Regions from separate parts of the Homo sapiens genome. Here region 2 is linked to region 1. The links are contacts of gene promoters, found by promoter capture Hi-C in human tissues and cell types (Jung and others, 2019). All regions are on one chromosome and are shown on one strand. Each heading gives the region's core, a stretch centred on a gene start or on the middle of the fragment in contact. The rest is flanking DNA. Distances are from core to core; before and after follow the strand shown.

What was found. The method cuts DNA at HindIII sites, captures the fragments that hold promoters and counts their contacts. A contact is called where the count stands out against the background at its distance.
Region 2: a fragment that was not itself captured here is called in contact with the fragment with the promoter of PPP6R1 in region 1 in 1 of the 25 tissues and cell types used here (dorsolateral prefrontal cortex).

The regions. Positions count from the first base shown.
Region 1 is chr19:55,255,298-55,261,695 of GRCh38, forward strand. PPP6R1 (protein phosphatase 6 regulatory subunit 1) reads right to left here and starts at 3,720. Exons shown (of 24, transcript NM_014931.4): 1 at 3,138-3,720. RefSeq lists silencers at 1,800-1,993, 3,178-3,237, 3,408-3,507, 3,638-3,917, 3,824-4,118 and enhancers at 2,968-3,942, 3,948-4,147, 4,178-4,227, 4,308-4,357. The HindIII fragment of the contact is 34,304 bases long and covers 1-6,398 here.
Region 2 is chr19:54,438,668-54,445,065 of GRCh38, forward strand. LENG8-AS1 (LENG8 antisense RNA 1) reads right to left here. Exons shown (of 3, transcript NR_126418.1): 3 at 6,149-6,398. Among named protein-coding and RNA genes, the nearest start is that of LENG8-AS1, 7.2 kb to the right of the region's middle. The HindIII fragment of the contact is 7,065 bases long and covers 203-6,398 here.

The DNA.
Region 1 (6,398 bases), core at 2,470-4,969:
AGGAAAGAAAGGAAAAGACCAATGAACGGATTTGAAATAGCTCTTTGGAAAAACAGAAAGGGGCAGAGTTAGGGTTACAGTGTGATCCAAAGTCAGAAAAGCTTGCATTCCCATTTGACCTCCCCAAACTGAAATCTCTGTGGCCTAGACCAAGGATCTCACCCCACCGAGCCCCAGTTTCCTTATCCGGGAAATACCTCACAGATGGGGTTACTATAAGGCAGCACTCTCTGGAGAAGGACCCACAAAACTGGTGTGCAAAGGGAAAACCACGGTTTGGCATGGAAAGGCAGGTGAGCCCCATCAAGCCGGGTGCCGAGTGATTCCCACTCTGGCAAGGCCCCTCACTCTCACCAAAGCTCTCAGGCCTCTCTCACCTCATCTCTTGCTACCTCCCGCGTGGGCGTCACACCTGACTGCCCTCAGCCGGGGCTGGGCTGCTCCCTCCTCCTTCCCGGAGCTCTTCGAGTCTGACTAGCTCCTCCTGGGTCCTTCAGGCCCCCACACAGACACCACTTCCTCCAGGGAGCCTCCCCCCCGCATCTGTGTTAGAGGCCTGCTCCACGCCGCTTCCACAGCATCCCGCAGTCACCCTGGAACAGCATGTGAGCCTCGGCTCTGTGACAGGATGTACCTGTTCAGTCATCTGCCTCCCCCTGAAACATGCCGACTTCCCAGGATCTAGCATAAGGCCAGGCCCAACTAAAGCTACTTGTTGAATTAATGAAAACTGAAGCCAGAGAAAGGTGTTCTGTTAAGAGCACTGGGCCACACATCCCACAAAAGAAAAAAAATGGGCAGGGGGACCAGACAAGCAGGTTCTCCTCTAATGGAAAGAAACAGTAGATGAACCAACAAAAGCTAATGGCCACAAAGATGGTGGTGACTCGCAATACACAACTCACCAACTCACAGCTCATGAGTCACAACAGAGCAAATAAGCCACAACGACACACCATACCCCAGCAGTGGAGCAAAGTTCTCCTCCTCTGCGCTGCTAACATTTGGGCTGGACGGTTCTTTTCGGTGTTGGGGCTGCCCATGCACTGGAGGACACTTAGCAACATCCCTAGCCTCCACCTCCACTCACCAGATACTGGCAGCATTCCCCCCAGTTGTAACAACCAAAAACATCTCCAGATATCGCCAATCGTCCCCCAGGGGACACAATCGCCCCCAGTTGAGAGCCACTGCAATGGACATTCCCAAATCAAATAATAATCGAAAGAACGGCCAGGTGTGGTGGTCCATGCCTATAATCCCAGCTCTCTGGGAGGCTAGGTAGGAGGACTGCTTGAACCCACGAGTTTGAAATCAGCCTGGGCACCACAGCAGGGCACCAGAGCAAGACCCAGTCTTTACAAAAAATACAAACATTAGCCAAGCGTGGTACAAAAACACAAAAATTGAGCAAGCATTGCAGGACGTGCCTGTAGTCCTAGCTACTTAGGAGGCTAAGGTGGGAAAATCACTTGAGTCCAGGAGTTCAAGGCTGGGCAAACGAGCAAAACCCAGTCTCAAAATCATCAACATCAAAACAGCTACTGATTGCAGAGTGTCATGTGCCTTGCATTCTGCCACAGGCTTCTACAAACCCTGCACTTAATCCCTAGATCCACCCTCTGAGGAGAGCAGTCTGCTATCCCCACTTACAGACGAGGAACAACTTGTCCAAGGTCTCGCTTGGCAGAAGCCGGACTCGGCCTAGGTCTGTCTGGCAAAAGATCCTCTAACAATTAGCTGGACTGCCTTCTCATGATCCCAATCCCAGAACTAGAGTTAAAAAAAAAAAAAAAAAAAAAGCATAACATTTTCAACAGCACAAGCAGCTCCAACAGCCATCCCACCACTAGTAAGCACACGTGGCCGGGCGCCGTGTCTCCATGTGTGTTGTGCATGTATGTAAACCAAGTCCTCATCCTGTGTTATCCAGGCAATCTCGAGTCCTTGCTGCATTTGCAGCGCACGCTAACAGTTAGACCCTCGCCCTTGGGCTGGATGAAATCCCACTGCAGTTTCTCTACAACTGTGAACCCAGTACCGCACCTGACAGTCTACGCAGCTTCCTTTCCTGAAACATCTTGCCTTTCAGGCGGGTGTCTATGGTCATGTCTGTGTGTACTACGAGCGAGCAAGAAAGACCCCAACCAGAGGTCCCATTCGAGGCCTGGATAAGCACGCCGGGCGGAACTACTCTGCCCCTCACCCTCCCAATACATCTGCACTCAGGACTCCGACCTTCCTTCCTTGACATATCTGCACGTGCTGCTCCTTCCCCCCCCGGAAGGCCCTTCTTCCCACTCTCCATCTGTCACCTCCTACTCATCCTTCCTAGACAGAAAAAGCCGTCCGTCCAGTCAGTCTCACCAGTGCCTCCCGCTCTGTGGCCCCCTGCAGCTCCCTAAGTCACCTCGATCACGACACGCAGGAATTGTGACTGTCCGGCTCTGCCTTTGTACCCCCTCCAGGGACCGGCCCCACCTCCAGGGCAGGGCCTAGGGCTGATGCCCCCTCCTCGGTGCCCAGCGCCAGGCTCCCTGCCTGCCCTCAGCAGGCTTCATCTCACTGAAGCAGGCCCGAGTGGTGGCTGCTCCAGAGAAGCCCCGCTCCCAGGTCCCTCGCACAAGAAGCCGGAGGCGGGAGAGGGTCGGTCAAGGTGAAAACAAGCCCCGCTCCTCCAGTCCTGAGCTCCGGGGATCTAAGGAGGCTGCGCCACGGAAGAGGTGGCGGGGCAGAGATCGGGGCGAGAGGGAAGGGTGTAAGCAGGCAAAGTCCAGGGTAACCAGGGAGAAAGACTCCTGGGGGGCCGGGGAACCGGCCAGAGAGGCAAGAGAGCGGAGCTGAGGCTCAGGGACTGGGGAGCGCAGCTGCAGAGAGCGAGTGGGAAAAGGCCGAGAGCAAGAGACTGAGACTAGGGTGGCGGCGGAGCTGAGGTGAAGAGATTAAGAGACTGGGGAGGGTCGAGGGGGAAGAAACGGGGTGCCGTGGAGAGGAAACCCGAAGGAAGGAGGGAAAGGATCCGAAGCAGAAAAGACCCGCGGGGGTCCCGAGAGGGAAAAGCCTGAGGGGACGCGGAGAGGGGAAGACGTGGGCGCCTGGCCCTGGAGAGAGAGGGTCGGGCGACGCGGGCCGCTCACCTGCGAGGGGGGGCGGCGGCTCCTCGCACTCGGGGCTCATCGGGGCGCCCCCCCCCGCCCCGCCGCCGGCGGCTCCGGCCCCTGCTGCGGGGCCCGGTGAGTGGGGGCGGGGGCGGCGTCGGGGACTCGCGCAGGCGCCGGGGCTCGCGGGGTCCGCGCAGGCGCCCGCGGGTCGTGGGGTCCTCGCGCGCCGGGTCCTGCAGAGTTGAGGGGGTCAGCGCCGGGTGGAGTTGCCGACGGGCGGGGGGCGTCACTAGTCCGCGTAGGCACCTCCGGGGTCCGCAGGCGAGGTGGGCGTGCGGGCCGAGGCGGGTTGGCGAGCCGGGTCGCGAGGCCCACGCAGGCGCCTCAGCCGGGAAGACGGGGGAAGTTGCCCCGGTTTCCACAGTCCAACCGAGCGCCCCACGGGAGGGGAAGGCGACCTCCTCCGCGGTCCAAACGGGCCGCAGAGCCGAGCAGCGACCGACGGAAGCCGAGGCCTACTTCCTTAACCACCCCTTCCCCAAAGCCGCTCAATCTCCGGGCTCTGCGGCCGGCCTCAGGGCCTCCGACGCCCGGCTCCCTCCGCCACTATCCCACAATCCCCCTAGCGCAGGACGACGCAGGAGGCCCCGCCCTCCCGCGGCTGTGTTGGTGCGCAGGTGCGGGGGGCGGGGTGCACGCCTGGGCGGTGCAGTGCGCGTGCGCCCGGGCGCTCCCGACACCGCCCACTCTTGAACCCCGCCGCCGCAGACGCGCTTGCGCCCGTTGGTGCCAACGGTCTGCCCCGGAATAAACCCAGACAGCTCAGTGAGCCGCAGCTGCGCACCGGCTCCGTTCCAAGGCCCCGTGAATATTCCGCTCCAGGATTTCCCTTCCCACTCGCTCCGTTTGGAAATCCGTTCGCTGTTCTGTCTCCTCTAATCATAGTGGAGCTTTGGCTCCAGGGTCGGGCTCTTGCGAAATCCAGACCTGGTTTTCGCTCCAGCCAAAGCCAGGCGCCTTCGTTCCGTCCGGCTCTCGCGCTTAGCCGCCTCCGAGCCTCAGAGGCCCTCAGTCGTTTCCGTCTGCTGGCGATAGTCCCGGCCGGGTCGCTGGTGTTGCCAGTTCCGCCCAAAGCAGCTTCTAATAGCATCAACTGAAAGAGACCTCCTAGACCTTGTGTCTAGATTGATGAAGGTCCCTCTGGCTTTGAGCCTCGGTTTCCCCAACTTTAATAGCTCCCCTCTCTACCCATGTTAGAGGCCTACTGTAAAAATCGTGTGGGCGCGAGGAACTTTTTTGTTTTTGTTTTTGTTTTAAGACTCCGAATTGGCCGGGCGCGGTGGCTTACGCTTGTAATCACAACACTTTAGGAGGCCCGAGGCCGGAGGATGGCATGAGACCAGGAGTTGGAGACCAGCCTGGGCAACCTAGGGAGACCCCCGTCTCTACAAAAGAAAATTTAAAAAATTAGTTGGGCCTGGTGGCCCGCGCCTGTGGTCTCAGCTATTCGGGAGGCTAAGGCAGGAGAATCGCTTGAGCCGAGGCTGCAGTGAGCCGGATTGCACCACTGCACTCCATCCTAGGAGACAGAGCGAGAACCTGTCTCAAAAACAAAGGGCCCAGCGTGGTGGCTCACGCCTGCCTGTACTTGAGCTCAGGAGTTCAAGACCCCACGCCTATAATCCCAGCACTTTGGGAGGCCGAGGTGGGCGGATTGCCTGAGCTCAGGAGTTTGAGACCAGCCTGGGCAACACAGTGAAACCACGTGTCTACTAAAATACAAAAAATAGCCGGACGTGGCGGTGTGCGCCTGTAATCCCAGCTACTCAGGAGGCTGAGGCAGGAGAATTACTTGAACCCGGGAGGTGGATGTTGCAGTGAGCCCAGATCAGGCCACTGCACTCCAGCCTGGGTGACAGAGCGAGACTCCGTCTCGAGAAAAAAAAAAAAAAAAAAAAAGAGCAAATTCACCCCTCCTTTGCCCTCTTTGTTCTATTGAGACCCTCAATGGATTGGATAATGCCAGCTCACACTGGGGAGGGAAGATCTTTATTCAGTCTACCGATTCAAATGCTAGTCTCTTCCAGAAATACCCTCATAGACACACCCATAATGTTTTACCAGCTATCTGGACATCCCTTAGCCCAGTCAACACCTGAAATGAACCATCACAGAGAGGCATTTCCTTTTCTCTTTTTTCTATAGAGATGTTTTGTCTTTTACCCAGCATTTGGCTTCCTTGTTTTCTCCACAATATGATGGCATCATTGCCACACTGTTTTAACACAGAGGTCAGGAACTGAGGGATAAGGATGTGGCTATAGTCCCTACCCTTCAAATGGAAGCTGGGAAGCTGTGGGGGCTTTAATGACTGAAGTCTGGATTTCCACCCAGCAGAACTCACAGATATACATTGTGTTTGCATTAGAATTGAAACTTTTTTTTAAGAGACAGGGTCTGGCTCTGTCGACCAGGCTGGAGTGCATGGCACGATCACAGATCACTGCAGCCTCGAACTCCTGGGCTCAAGCAATCCTCTCGCCTCAGCCTCCCGAGTAGCTGGGACTACAACTGGAACTTTTTTCTTGAGACAGGATCTCAGATCCTGCAGCTACCTCTCAATTTATCCTGGATTTAGGAAGAGGAGTGATAAAAACCAATCCAAATAGACTCAAAAATCCCAGATCCACCAGAACAATCCACACAAAAGGAATGAGTCTGACATCAAATTGTCCTAGGAAACCAGGATACAAGAAAGAGGAGGATTGGCCGGGCATAGTGGCTCACACCTGTAATCCCAGCACTTTGGGAGGCCGAGGAGGGTGGATCACCCTGTCAAGAGTTCAAGACCAGCCTGGCCAAGATGGTGAAACCTGGTCTCTACTACAAATACAAAAATTAGCCGGGCGCGGTGGCAGGCGCCTGTAATCCCAGCTACTTGGGAGGCTGAGGCAGGAGAATCTCTTGAACTCGGAGGGTGGAGGCTGCAGTGAGCCAAGATCGGGCCACTGCACTCCAGCCTGGGCAACAGAGTGAGACTCCCGTCTCAAAAGAAAAAAAAAAGAAAGAAAAAGAAAAAGAAAGAGGAGGATCGCTCTGGAATTAGTCCAGCTGTGAATCCTGGCTGTGAACTTGGTCAGGGGTCAGCCTCCTCTGAGCTCAGCCTCCTCTCTGGAAAAACAACAGCTTTCAAAGCTCTTGTCTACAAATGACAAAATTTCTTGTAGCTAAACAGAAAAGGAATTTATTAAAGGAATTGAGGCAGCCTCCGACACCCCCACCTCCCGCCCCAATCCC
Region 2 (6,398 bases), core at 2,485-4,984, 820 kb before region 1:
TTCTGAAGACTTCTATTTAGAGCTGCCTGTTACAACGATACCACTTTGATCAGCTAAACCCTGAAAACAAACATGCACAAAAAGAGAAGTCCAATAACTGACTGCACAGCAGGGCTCTCTGGAAGAAACCAGCTCTTGGCTGAGTTGAGGATGTGAGGGAAAAGCCTGGCAGAGAGGAGCTATCAGAGCAGGGTGTGGCAGACAGCAGTGGCAGAGTGGACTGAAGGAGAGGGGCCTGCACAGTGAAGGGCCCAGCTTATCATTCAAGGCACCCCAGGCCACCATCCTGGCCCTGCTTTTCATGACCTTCACGGATATGGGAAAGTCACTTGACCCGTTAGACCTCGGTTGCCTCTTTGATCAAACGGGTATCAGAAATCCAAAATTCCAAAATCCACAGATCCAAAGAGCTCCAAAGTCAAGCCATCCCCAAGCTCATTGGGCAGGAAAACCTGACCTGTGTTGGTGGGAGATGACTTACAGACATGACTGACACGCTTGGTGTGAACGTTCACATACTTCCCTGCAGAAAAGTTAACCAGGCTGCTGCACACTGCTGTGCTGAGCACTGAGGGTGCCGTGTGCCCTGTGGAGTAGAGATCATATTGCCTTTGCAACTGAAAAATCCTGAATCTCAACACACACCTGGCTCCGAGGGGATCGAGTTGGTGCTTGGTGACCCACAGTGCCAGATGCTGGTGTACAGCGTGGGGCCTGCTGCTGCTCTGTGCCTGTCAATCATTTCTATTTTGTGTACTGCAAGGAGCGTTCAGAGGAAGCTTTAGATATGTGGGCCTGACGGTGGGAATAAAAATCAACTGCAATTTCAGGGAGGGGTTCTGGGGGCCACATGCGTTCACTCACTTTTTCCTAACCATGTGGGCTGTCTGCCCCAGGCCCGGCCCTGCTGCTATGCTGACTTCTTTCCTCTCAAACACTGCCCTCTAGTGCCCCTGAGCCCATTTCCCAAGCACAGGCATCCGCTGGCTGTTGGGCGGCTGCAAAGTACCTTGAGACTCAGCTGCTTGATCTCCCATGCCAATGAGCCTGGGGGTGATCTCTCAACAAGAAGTTGGCCGGGCACCCTGGCTCACGCCTGTAATCCCAGCACTGTGGGAGGCTGGGGCAGGCGATCACCTGAGGTCAGGAGTTTGAGACCAGCCTGGCCAACACGGTGAAACCCCATCTCTACTAAACACAAAAATTAGCCGGGCATGGTGGCGGGCGCCTGCAATCCCAGCTACTCAGGAGGCTGAGGCAGGAGAATCACCTGAACCCGGGATGCGGAGCTTGCAGTGAGCCGAGATCGCGCCACTGCACTCCAGCCTGGGCGACAGAGCAAGACTCCGTCTCAAAAAAAAAAAAAAAAAAAAAAAAGGCATTTTACCCAAACTTTACAAAAGGAAAATCCAGTGTTATTTTTAGAATGTTACCTATGGGGGCTTCCACTGCGACCAGGATGGAGTCACAGAGACTGGACTTGACCCCCCAAAAATAGAGTAAATACAAGAAAACAACAGTGGTCAAGACTCTACCAAGAAAGTGATCCCTGAGGAACGGGAAACATCAAGGCAAGCCCTAAAATTGCCGCTGGGTCCTGTTGCAAGTTTCTAGACCACGGGACAGGGAGGGAAGACTGAGGCGGAGCTGGGAGGACTCCGTGAGCAGAGGAGACAAAGCAGGGAGTCTGAGCTTTGTTCTTGAGCTTTGTTTTGAGAATGAAGTTATGGGCCGGGTGCGATGGCTCACGCCTGTAATCCCAGCACTTTGGGAGACCGAGGTGGGTAGATCACCTGAACTCAGGTGTTCGAGACCAGCTTTGCCAACATGGTGAAACCCTGTCTCTACTAAATATATACAAATTCGCCGGGTGTAGTGGTGGGTGCCTGTAGTCCCAGCTACTCGGGAGCCTGAGGCAGGGGAATCTCTTGAACCTGGGAGGCGAAGGTTGCAGTGAGCCAAGATCGCGCCATTGCACTCCAGCCTGGGCAGCAGAGCGAGACTCCATCTCAAAAAATAAATAAATAAAAATAAAAATAAATTATCTTGGACTTCCAGCCTCCAGAACTGTGAGAAATAAGTGTTTGTTGTTTTTGAGCCACCAGTCCATGGTCCTCTGTTACTGCAGACTAGAATGCCAGGGAAAGAACCACCTGGAGGGACTGAAGCAAATAGCGCCTGAGTTCTGGGGACTCACACAGGCCTTGACAAGGCGCTGTTCCTGCCAGAAGAACCTCATAACTGAAGGAACACTGGGTAGAACACGGAGAGGGTCTTACATCAGCCGTGGGGAATAAGCAGCCCTAACCTGTTAAACACTGTTCTGGTCCTGCCTGAGGAATCTTAAAAGCAAAACCTGAAAGGATCAAGCTGCTTCCAAGTAAGGTGACTGCATTCTCAAACAAAGCTCAAGAATATTTATAGGCATACAAAAGTAACGAGTGCTCGACAAGGTAATACTGATATTGTCTAGTATCCAACAACAAAGTCACCAAATATGCAAAAAGCAGGAAAATAGGGCACATCATGAGGATAAAAATCATTCAACTGAAACGGACCCAGGAGTTAGAATTAGTAGGTAAGAACATTAGAACAACTATTATACTGTACTCCATACGTTCCAAAAGTTCTTTACAGATACGGAAGATATAAAAAAACTCAAACTGGATATCAACAGATAGAAATTACAATGTCTGAAATAAATAATGTACTGGCTGGAACAGCAGATTTTTGTTTTTTGGGGGAGAGTCTTGCTCTGTTGCCCAGGCTGTAGTGCAGTGGCATGATCTAGGCTCACTGCAACTTCCACCTCCCAGGTTCAAGCAATTCTCATGCCTCAGCCTCCCAAGTAGCTGAGACTACAGGCACCTGCCACCACATCCAGCTAATTTTTGTATTTTTAGTAGAGACGGGCTTTCACCATGTTGGCCAGGCTGGTCTCAAACTCCTGACCTCAAATGATCTGCCAGCCTCGGCCTCCCAAAGTGCTGGGATTACAGGTGCGAGCCACTGCACCCAGCCCTAGAACAGCAGATTAGACATTGCAGGAAAAAAAAAAAAATCTGGAAGACAACATTAGAAACTGTCCAAATGAAACATTTAAAAAAATGATTTTTTTTTTTTTACTTTTTAGACAGGGTCTCACTCTGTCACCTAGGCTGGAGTGCACTGGCGTGATCATGACTCACTGCAGCCTCAACCTCTCCAGCTCAAGCGATCCTCCCACTTTAGCCTCTCGAGTAGCTGGGACTACAGGCGCACACCACCATGTTTGGCTAATCTTTAAAAATTTTCTGTAGAGATGAGGTCTCACCATGTTGCCCAGGGTGGTCTCAAACTCCTGGGCTCAAGTGATCCTACTGCCTTGGCCTCCCAAAGTGCTGGGATTACAGGCATGAGCCACCATGCCCTGCCCCAGAAGGAATGAATATATTTTTTTTTAATGAAAAGAACACTGGTGAGCTGTGGGACATTTTAATATATGTGTAACTGGAGGCCCATAAGGAGAGAGAAAGAAAGGAACAGAGAGAGTGTTTAAAGAAATAATAACCCCAAATTTCCCAAATTTGATACAAACTATAAAACCAAAGATACAAGAAACTCAACACACCCCAAGCAGAAGAAACACAAAGATAAACCAAGATACATCATAATCAAATTTCTTAAGACCAGTAACAAAGAGAAAATCTTGACAACAGCCAGATGAAAAACAAAAAGATTTTATAAACAGAGGAACAAAAATTAGGATGACACCAGATTTCTCACTGGAAACAATGTGAGAAAGCAGTGTAAGAAAATTCTTAAAGTAGCAAAAGAAAAAAGTAGTCAACCTAGAATTCGATACTCACTGAAACTGTTTTTCAAAAGTGGGCCGGGCACGATGGCTCACGCCTGTAATCCCAGCACTTTGGGAGGCAGAGGCGGGCGGATCACAAGGTCAGGAGATCGAGACCATCCTGGCTAACACAGTGAAACCCCGTCTCTACTAAAAATACAAAAAATTAGCCGGGCGTGGTGGTGGACGCCTGTATTCCCAGCTACTCGGGCGGCTGAGGCAGGAGAATGGCGTGAACCCGGGAGGCGGAGCTTGCAGTGAGCCGAGATCGCGCCACTGCACTCCAGACTGGGCGACAGAGCAAGACTCCCTCTCAAAAAAAAAACCAAAAAAACAAAAGTGAAGACAAGGCCAGGCGCAGTGGCTCACACCTGTAATCCCAGCATTTTGGGAGGCTGAGGCAGGCGTATCACCTGAGGTCAGGAGTTCGAGACCAGCCTGGCCAACATGGTGAAACCCCGTCTCTACCAAAAAATACAAAAATTAGCTGGGTGTGGTGGTGGGCACAGAGCAGAGATAGAACAGTATCATAAGGCTGGGCGTGGTGGCTCACACCTGTAATCCCAGCACTTTGGGAGGCCAAGGCAGGCAGATCCCGAGGTCAGGAGTTTGAGACCAGCCTAGCCAATATAGTGAAACCCTGTCTCTACTAAAAATGCAAAAAGGAGCTGGGTGTGGTGGTGCACGCCTGTAATCCCAGCTACTTGGGAGGCTGAGGCAGTAGAACTGCTTGAACCTGGGAGGAGTAGGCTGCAGTGAGTCGAGACTGTGCCACTGCACTCCAGCCTGCATGACAGTGAGACTCCGTCTAAAAAAAAAAAAAAGGTATCATAAAAAATGCTCAAACTTCCAAACTTCTCTCCACAAATGGTGCTAGAACAACTGGACATCAACATGCCAAAAATAAATAAATCAAATCTATACACAGACCTTAGTCTCTTCACAAAAATTAACTCAAAATGGATCATAGAGCTGAATGTTAAATGCAAATCTATAAAACTCCTAGAAGATAACATAGGAGAAAACCTACATGACTGGGTTTTGTGAATTTTTTTTTTTGAGACAAGAGTCTCACTCTGTCGCCCAGGCTGGAGTGCACTGGCAGAATCTTGGCTCACTGCAACCTCTGCCTCCTGGGTTCAAGTGATTCTCATGCCTCAGCCTCCTGAGTAGCTGGAATTACAGGTGTGCGCCACCACGCCCGGCTAATTTTTGTATTTTTAGTAGAGATGGGGTTTTGCCACGTTGGCCAGGCTGGTCTCAAACTCCTGGCCTCAAGTGATCCACTCACCTCGGCTTCCCAAAATACTGGGATGACAGCTGTGAGCCACCACGCCCAGCCGTGATAATTTTTTTGATACATCAAAGGCATGATCCATGAAAGAAACTTACAAGCTTGACTTTATTAAAATAATAATAAAAAAACCCCTCTGCTAGGCCAGGCGTGGTGGCTCACGCCTGTAATCCCAGCTCTTTGGGAGGCCGAAGCGGGCGGATCATGAGGTCAGGAGATCGAGACCATCCTGGCTAACACGGTGAAGCCCCATCTCTACTAAAAATACAAAAAATTAGCCAGGTGTGGTGGCAGGTGCCTGTAGTCCCAGCTACTCAGGAGGCTGAGGCAGGAGAATGGCGTGAACCCGGGAGGCGGAGCTTGCAGTGAGCCAAGATCACGCCACTGCACTCCAGACTGGGCGACAGAGCGAGACTCCATCTCAAAAAACAAAACAAAACAAAACCCTCTGCTCTTTGAAAAACATTTTTAATATAATGAGAAAAGCTGCAGCCTGGGAGAAACTATTTGCAAGAGACCTATCTCATGAAGGACTGCTATCCAAGATTTACAAAGGGCTCTTAAAACTCAGTTAACAGGAAAACAATCTGATTAAAAAATAGGAAAAGGGGCCAGGCATGGTGGCTTACACCTGTAATCCCAGCACTTTGGGAGGCCAAGACGGGCAGGAATTTGAGACCAGCCTGGCCAATATGGTGAAACCCTGTCTGTACTAAAAATACAAAAATTAGCCAGCATGATGGCACGTGCCTGTAGTCCCAGCTACTCGGGAGGCTGAGGCAGAAGAATTGCTTGAACCCGGGAGGCGGAGGTTGGAGTGAGCCGAGATGGTGCCACTGCACTCCAACCTGGGTGACAGAGTGAGACTCGGTCTCAAAAAAAAAAAAAAAAAAAAAAAAAAAAAAAAAAAAAAAAAGGATTGTTTCTGGGTGTGTCTGTGAGGGTGTTGCCAGGGAGGCTGACACTTGAGTGAGTGGACGGGGAGAGGGAGACCCACTCTCAGTGTGGGTGGGCACCATCCAGTCAGCGCAGAAGGTGGGAGGGGCTGGCTTGCTGAGTCTTCTGGCTTTCATCTTTCTCCTGTGCTGGATACTTCCTGTCTTTGGAGATTAGACTCCAGGTTCTTTGGCCTTTGGACTCTTGAACTTCCACCAGTGGTTTGTCGGGGACTCTTAGGCCTTCCGCCACAGACTGAAGGCTGCGCCGTTGGCTTCCCTACTTTTGAGGCTTTTGGACTTTGAGACGTGACTGGCTTCTTCCTTCCTCAGC